Linked DNA regions of Homo sapiens: region 2 is linked to region 1. Evidence: promoter capture Hi-C in human tissues and cell types (Jung and others, 2019). All regions are on one chromosome and are shown on one strand. The core of a region is centred on a gene start or on the middle of the fragment in contact, and the rest is flanking DNA. Distances in the headings are between cores, read along the strand shown.

Region 1 (3,914 bases), core at 363-2,862:
CCCCCCACCTCAGCTGGGCCTTCAACACTGCCATAATCCCTCTGTCCTAGCCCACAGCGCCCCAAGGGAAGGGGAAGCTGGGCGGAGCGCAGTGCACCCACCTAACCCACCCCAATCCTTCCATTCCCTCCGCCTCCTCCAGGGCTTTGAGCCGCATTTCCTGCTCTTCTCGAGTAGGGGTAACCTCTCCCACTGTCAAAACTAAACTAGCTCAAGTCTTTCTCACCTGCAAAATAAACTCTCGAGTGCATCTCTCTCCAGCTACTGCCCCATGTCTTCTCCCCTTCGTGACCAGCTGTCTACACTTCCTGCCTCCATTTCCCCACTTTCTTACTCCCTGGCTCCTGCCCCCACGACACAACTGTTCCCCACAGGGCCACAGGCGGGCATCACTCAGTGTTGACAGGCTGCCCCTCCCTGTGACATAGCCCCCTGCTAGTACGCTCCTATCTCAGTCCCCTCCTCCCATGACCTGAGGCTGGAGCTCCCCCAGGATCTCTCCCAGGCCCTCTGCTCGCCATCAAAGGCGGATGCCTCACAAGCTTACGACTCCAGACAGGCTCACCCAACTGCCTCCTCCACCCAACGCTGCAGCCCACTCAAGGTCCACGTAGTCCAAGCTGCATTCCTTCCTCGCACTCCCTTGCCCTGTGTCCCCTCTTAGCAAATGGCAGCCTCGGCGATCCTGCCCCGAGACAGGCCTGCGCCCAGCGTGGAGATGAACATCAGTATTTGCTGAACGTGTAAACGAATCCTTGACCTTCCCTCATGCTCCACAGCCGGTGAGGATTCCTGTCCATTTTACTGCCTCCTACGTCCCTCGAGTCCTCCCCTCTGCTTCTTTGTTCACCGCGGCCAGCTGCCTCCCCAGACCCGCAACCCCGGCTGGGCCGGGAACCTGCACCGCGGCGCTCGTGCCCCGCTCTGCGACCCCTGCTCCGTGACGGCCGCACTGCACCGGGGTACCGCGGCCCAGCACAGGCGCTGGTCACTAGTACACGAACTAGCTAGGACTACAGGTGCACACCACCACACCTGGCTAATTTTTTATTTTTTGTAGAGATAATGTCTTACTAAGTTACCCAGGCTGGTCTTCTGGGCTCAAGCCATCCTCCTGCCTCGGGCTCCCAAAGTGCAGACATTACAGGCATGACCCACCGTGCACAGCGTCAGCTTTATTTTTTTAATGCTGACTTACTGCAGAAGGCCCAAGGGCCAGTGCAGTTTTCATACTGCTGTTGTAGTGGCGAACGGAGCCACGAGGGAAGGGAGCGCCGCCGGCAGCTGCCGGGACACCAGGATACCACGCGGCCAGCACCGAAACGCTAGGCTCGCGCTCACAACCGCAATCTACACTGAGTAGCCGCGCGCCGAACGGCGTGACTAAGCCCCGCCCACACGGCGCTCCTGGCGGCCAATGGAAATGGCTTACGAGACGCCTTCTCCACGCGCTATACTTATACGGACCAATGGGTGCGCCCTGTGGGGAGTGCCGCCCCCTGTCCACGAGCCTCCTCTTCTCGCCAGCCAATGGAAGCGGTCTGCCTAGCCCTCGCGGGGGCAAGGCGGCGACCGAGGCGCGTGGGTCTGGGAAGGCGCGCGGATTTGGCCCCTCTTCTCACATCAGCGGGTCCAGGCCCAACCGACAGACTATGGGGGCTCCGGCAACCAGGCGCTGCGTGGAGTGGCTGCTGGGCCTCTACTTCCTCAGCCACATCCCCATCACCCTGTTCATGGACCTGCAGGCGGTGCTGCCGCGCGAGCTCTACCCAGTCGAGGTGAGGGGCGCCCCTCTTATCCCGGCCCGCTGAGGCTCTCCCGGCGCTGCGTCCACAGGGCCTTCACCTCCTCCGCGCTCGCGCACTCTGGGTTCCAGTTGCCTCTCTCGGGTCCTGCCCATGCCTCCCCCGCTCCTAACCCAACTTTAGTTCGGTGTTTTCCTCGGGCTTTGTCTCTATCCCAGCCCCTTCTCCCAAGCGGCGGGGGCGAACGCTTTGTTTCCTTTAAAGTCACTTCTTCCCTGGGTTTAAGGTTTCCCGCGATTCCACCTCTGGCCGGTTGTCAGTGTCTGAGGGAAGTAGTCTGGATGAAGTGGTGTCCAAAGTCACATGTTAGGTTTGCTTTAAGCTTCTGGTTTTTTGTTTGTTTGTTTGGAAGGGCTTTAAAATACCAGTCTGATCCCAAAGAAAAAATCCGAGTAGAAATAGACCTGTCTGAAGGTTTAGCACCTTGGTTGGTGCAGCTGGGGCGTTCACAGATCGTCACTGCTTCGAGATCAGGTTCCAGCAACTTCCAGAGCTCAGGAGTAAATTGCCATCTTTTCAGATTGGCTCTTCAATATTGGGTTCGAGTAACAATGATCTCCTGAGTAAAAATAAAGGTGAAAATCCCGATTTCCTGGTTGTTGGAGAGCATTCTTTCAACCCCAAACTCTGCTTTAATGCTTTGTTTTTTTCTTCAAAGCTATAGTTTTAGTTTCCCGGTTCGTTGAGGTTTTTTTCTCGTATCTGGACCCTGTGACCTTCTTCCATGGAATTCCTGTCCTCAGTTTTGTTTCTCCATCTTATCTATAACTGTAGGCAGGACTGACTTGTCTACCCGAAGATTTTATTTTGCGTCTGTTTTTCCTTAAATGCTTTTTATCTGCCGAGGAGGGGTTCTTTACCTGAGGGTCATGAACTCCCAAAAATGGGTGCAAGTGTGTGTGCCTTTTGTTTCCTGCAAGGAGAATATAGCTTCCATCGACTTTTCAAGGGGCCTAACTCTCCCAAAAAGGCCACGGCTCAAGAATGTTCTACCACTCCCATAAGTCACTCTTTTTTGTTTGCTTCTAGAACCAAACACAACTGGAAGACCTCTGACCTCCTTTTGCATGGGAAAAGCGTAGGTAGCGTGTAGCAAGTTGCAGTCTGGGGACTTGGTTCTTCCAAGAACTGGAGGTGACTTGGGCAGGTCAGGGCTCTATATCCTCCTCAACTGTTGAGAGAGTTGAGTTAAATTATAAGCTCAAACATATACAGGGTGGGTTAGTTTTCATATTGCTGTTGTAGTTACCACAAATGTAGTGATTTAACAGATTTATTTGTTTACAGTTCTGGAGGCCAGAAGTTCACAATGAAATCTTACAGTGCTCAAATCAAGGCAGGGCTCACTCCTTCTGAGGGCTCCAGGGGAGAATCTGGTTCTTGCCTCTTCCATTTTCTGGTGGCTGCCAATGTTCCTTGGCTTGTGTTCACGTCACTTCAATCTCTGCTTCGGGTCATCACATTGCCTCCCTTTCTGTAGTCAGAGTTCCCTCTGCTTCGCTTTTATAAAGACACTTGTCATACATTCAGGGCCCACCAGATAACCCAGAAAATCTCCCATTTCAAAATCCTTAATTACATCTGCAAAGTCCCTTTTGCCAAATAAAGTAATAGTCACAGGTTCCAGGGATTAGGATGTGGTTATCTTTGGGGGCCATTATTCAGCCTACTACAGGGCCAGAGAGTACAGACTCTTCCCAAAGACCGAAGAGGTCATCGCAGCTCTGCAGTAACCATTAATTGCCCTGAAGAAAGGAAAATCTACTACAGTGTTGGCCTATCTGTGGTTTTTGAAACCTGTGTGGCCAGCAATACTCAGACAGGCTGCCTGTTTACAATCTCTGGTGTTATAGGACCTTTTAATACTTGGTAATTAGCCTGCTACTCCATGTAGCCATTCCAGACTTCACAGCTGTTGTCTTCTTTATCCTTCCTGGATGTGCCATTCTCACAAGCCCGTCTTGCTCACCCCTAACAAAATACACTTAAAAGGTGCTCAGCATCATATCATAAAGATCCCATTTAAATGTTTACATTTGATAAAATTTTCTCAGTCTTTTTTTTAGAAACAGGGTCCTTTGTCACCCAGGCTTGGCGTGCTGTGATGCA
Region 2 (3,914 bases), core at 619-3,118, 270 kb before region 1:
TCATGAAGAGGTTGGAATGTCATGCTTGAGGCACTAAAAACAGCTTTTTATTAATAAAGCATATGTGGACATATAGCACATAAACAGTTAAATAGCATATCTGTGGTATTAAGATTTTACGAGGGGATGATTAGGAAAATAGCCTAAAAAGGCTCCGTAGGCGGGCAATGATGAGAAAAGGTTAAAACTGCGAATGGCAACTACTGAAAGTTTTTAAGTAAGAGAGACTTCGTCAGATTTAATTTTTTTTTTTGGATATGTAAAATAGAAGAGTAGAGAGAACTGAGATCTGTCTGAGTCTTAGGGAATGTTCTCAGTTGTAGGTGGAAGAAGCTACTGGAAGCAGAACTAAAGGGCAGTTAGGAAAATGTGTTCACAATGATTGACAATCTAAGTATGGCAGAAGATTGTTAGGAAAATGGGAGTGATCTTTGGTGCTGATAAAAAGTCAAAGAAGGCCGGCCATGGTGGTTCACACCTGTAAACCCAGCACTTTGGGTAGCTGAGGTGGGCATATCACTTCAGCCCAAGAGTTCGAGACCAGCCTGGACAACATAGTGAAATCTCATCTCCACTAAAAGTACAGAAAAAAAAAATTAGCCTGGTGTGGTGGCACGCACCTGTAGTCCCAGCTACTCAGGAGTCTGAGGTTGCAGTGAGCTGATATCACACCACTGCACTCCAGCCCGGGCGACAGAGTCAGAACCTGTCTCAAAAAAAAAAAAAAAAAAGTCAGAAAATTAAGATGGAGAAAAGGCCAAAAGGCCATTGTATTTAGCCTGATAGTAAATAGATCATTGATGGCATTTGAGAGAGTGATTGTGTTTGATTGATTCTAAAGAATGTCTTAAGTATTCAGTATTACTTTTTACAATTTTTTAAAATTATTAATACAATTCTTCCAAATCTCATTTGTTTGTTTGTTTGTTTGTTTGTTTGTTTTTAGTTTAATAAACCAGAGAACTTGATGTTCAAGGTGCCATTTCCTTGGGAAGGATTTTTTTTTTTTTTTGAGACAGAGTCTTCCGCTGTCACCAGGCTGGAGTGCAGTGGCATGATCTTGGCTCATGCAGCCTCCACCTCCCAGGTTCAAGGGATTCTCCTGCCTCAGCCTCCCGAGTAGCTGGGATTACAGGCACGTGGCACCACACCCGCCTAATTTTTGTATTTTTAGTAGAGACGGGGTTTCACCATGTTGGCCAGGATGGTCTCGATCTCTTGACCTCGTGATCGGCCTGCCTCGGCCTCCCAAAGTGCTGGGATTACAGTTGTGAGCCACTGCGCCCGGCTTTTTTTTTTTTTTTAAACAATGGGGTAATAGATTACTAAACTAAACTTGTTAGGAGACAAGGTTCTGGTCCTAGCCTTGCTGCCAACAACCCTGTGACCTTGGTAAAGTTATTTAAACTTTCTGAGCCTTGGTTTTCTCATTTATAAAATCCTGTGTTTCCTAAGATTCTATTATAAAATGATATTAATATTTGTTGGAGTTTGCTGGTGACCACAAGACAACTTTCTCTCTTCAGGACTACAGTGTTGAATAGCTTCTAAAATTGTTTAAAGGAGGAATGAGATAAATGTCACCCTGTTCCAGAGTGGTGACTTTTATAGAGTTTTCTAATTTGGGATTAGATTTTAAATGTTCATTTTTTTTTCATCAAGAGACTTGTTTTCTTCTATTACTGAGTTATTGGTAAGGATTATACATGTAGTTCAGCTGTGGAGAAGAGCAGGCCTGTTTGCAAATGAGCAATTTCTTCTACATGTCCATTTGATACTACTATTTTCCTGATAATATTTACCTTTTTAGTGTTTTAGACTTTAAAAACTTGCTTAGTTTCTTATAAGTCTTACAATAGTTTTCTTACAATATTTTGAGTGATTTTTAAATTTTTAAATAAAATTTAATGTTCAGTATTTTGTCATCTTTTGTGTGTGAGTAATCAGGTAAGATGATTTGGGAGCCAGTGCTTACATTAATTTGCAAGTTTCTTTAAAACAAATTTCTTTCCAGGAGTCTCTTTTAAATTCTGAATTTGGATAAGAGAGTTACTAGTTTGCATGTGGGCCTCCCAGAAAATGAGCTTTGACACAGCTTTCAGGCTGTAGTAGTTTAGGGCTTACAGTGCCCAAAGAGGGAGAGTGACTTCCTAAAGCTCTTGTCCAAGAGGAAGGGAGCATTTTTGCAGACACCCTCAGCAAACCAGCAGTGCTATCCAGTAAATACATAGTGAAAGTATGCAATCTTAAATTTTCTAGTAGCCACAGTAAAAAACTGAAAAGAAACAGGTGACATTAATTTTAGTAATGTATTTTAACTCTATATCCAAAATATTGTCATTTCAACATGTATTCACTATAAAAATTATTAATGATCTATATTACTTTTTTTTCATACTGAGTCTGCAAAATCACTATGTATCTTCATGCTTAGAATATGTCTCAGTTTGGTCTAACCACATTTTAAGTGTTCTGTAGCCACACATGGCTACTGACCAGCACCAGCATATTGATCTCTGGTGTTTTTTTTTTTTTTTTTTTGAGACAGTCTTGCTCTGTCACCACACCTGGCTATTTTTTTTATTTTTTTGTGGAGATGGGGTCTCACTTTGTTGCCCAGGCTAGTCTCAAACTCCTGGGCTCAAGCAGTTTGCCCACCTTGACCTCCCAAAGTGCTGGGATTACAGGCCTGAGCCACCGCACCTGGCCTCTCTTTGGCTTTTGTTGGATTACATACTCATTTCTGAACCAGTCACTGTCAATGAAGGTAAGATTACTTTTGGAGCAATCAGATCCACTTCTGGACCTGGAGATGGAGTCAGTTTTAAATGGGAGGGATGAATACCAGCAGTAAATGCCAGGAATGCAGTCATTAATGACCAAGATACTGCATTTGTCTGACTTGTGTCAGACTCAGAAGAACTTGAGTGGGTATATTTATGGAACAAACTGGAATAATGATCTCTATAGAGAAGTCCTGTCTGTCCTGAGTTATTTGGAGGCATTTTTCCTTTTCTTTTCTGAAGCTTTGTTTGCCTAAAGTAGCAGAAGGTAAATTTGGTACCTGATCGTTGCCATGTTTGCTTTCCTTCCCAGTTAGAGCAGATATCTCCTATTGATTTCTCTTTTTATCCTCTCCGTATTGTGGTTTTGTTATCTGGATAAGGTTCTCAGTCTTGTTTTCAATTTAAGTAGTATAGAGCTCAGTAGTGTCAGGCAGCAGACTTCTTACAGGGGAATGGACAACACAGAAACTTTTTGTTTATCCATTCTTTGACCTAAAATTCTTGCTCTGAGCTACAGAAAAAAGGTGAAAAGAGACATTTGAACAAATAGATAAAATTAGTCATTTGACCCAGATTGCAGCTTTTCTTCCTGTCTGCATGGATAAAAATGATCCGTCAATTTACATAAGCAGGTGATTTTTCTTACATGCTAATTTTCTTAATGTACCATGGCAGAGAGTTGCAGATTTGCAAATTGTGTAAGTTAATTGAAATAAGCCAGGTGACTTTATTTCACTGTATTATCTTACCAGTACAAAAGTACCCAAAGGGTACAATTATCAGGTGATTGTCTCATTGCACATCTAAATTAACATGCAGCCTGGTGCAGAGGGTTTTTCCCCACTTTCTTCTCCACTTCCCTCTCTTTTCTAATTTTTTAAAATAGGAAACTTGATTTCTATATTTACTTCAATAGAGCTGGAAATTTAGTAATACAGATGCGGAGGAAATTTGAGCTTTATTAAAAGTAATCCAGAAGCTATAAAAATTGGCAAGTAATGTGGTTATTGTGCAGAAGAAGGGGCTTGGTTTGGGTTTGAATTGCCTCAGAGAATTATGTGAGCATCTTCAACCATGTTTAATTGATTGGCTTCCTCTGTGTTCATTTTCCCAGGTTCTGCAGGTTAC

The links. Contacts are between HindIII fragments. The study calls those that stand out against the background at their distance.
Region 2: a contact is called between a fragment that was not itself captured here and the fragment with the promoter of TMEM97 in region 1, in 1 of the 25 tissues and cell types used here (IMR-90 fibroblasts).

What each region holds. Positions count from the first base shown.
Region 1 is chr17:28,317,588-28,321,501 of GRCh38, forward strand. TMEM97 (transmembrane protein 97) reads left to right here and starts at 1,613. Exons shown (of 3, transcript NM_014573.3): 1 at 1,613-1,778. The coding sequence starts at 1,653. RefSeq lists enhancers at 1-717, 937-1,196, 1,677-1,736. The HindIII fragment of the contact is 5,118 bases long and covers 1,335-3,914 here.
Region 2 is chr17:28,050,367-28,054,280 of GRCh38, forward strand. All of the region lies in intron 1 of NLK (nemo like kinase), which reads left to right. Among named protein-coding and RNA genes, the nearest start is that of NLK, 9.6 kb to the left of the region's middle. The HindIII fragment of the contact is 6,343 bases long and covers 1-3,914 here.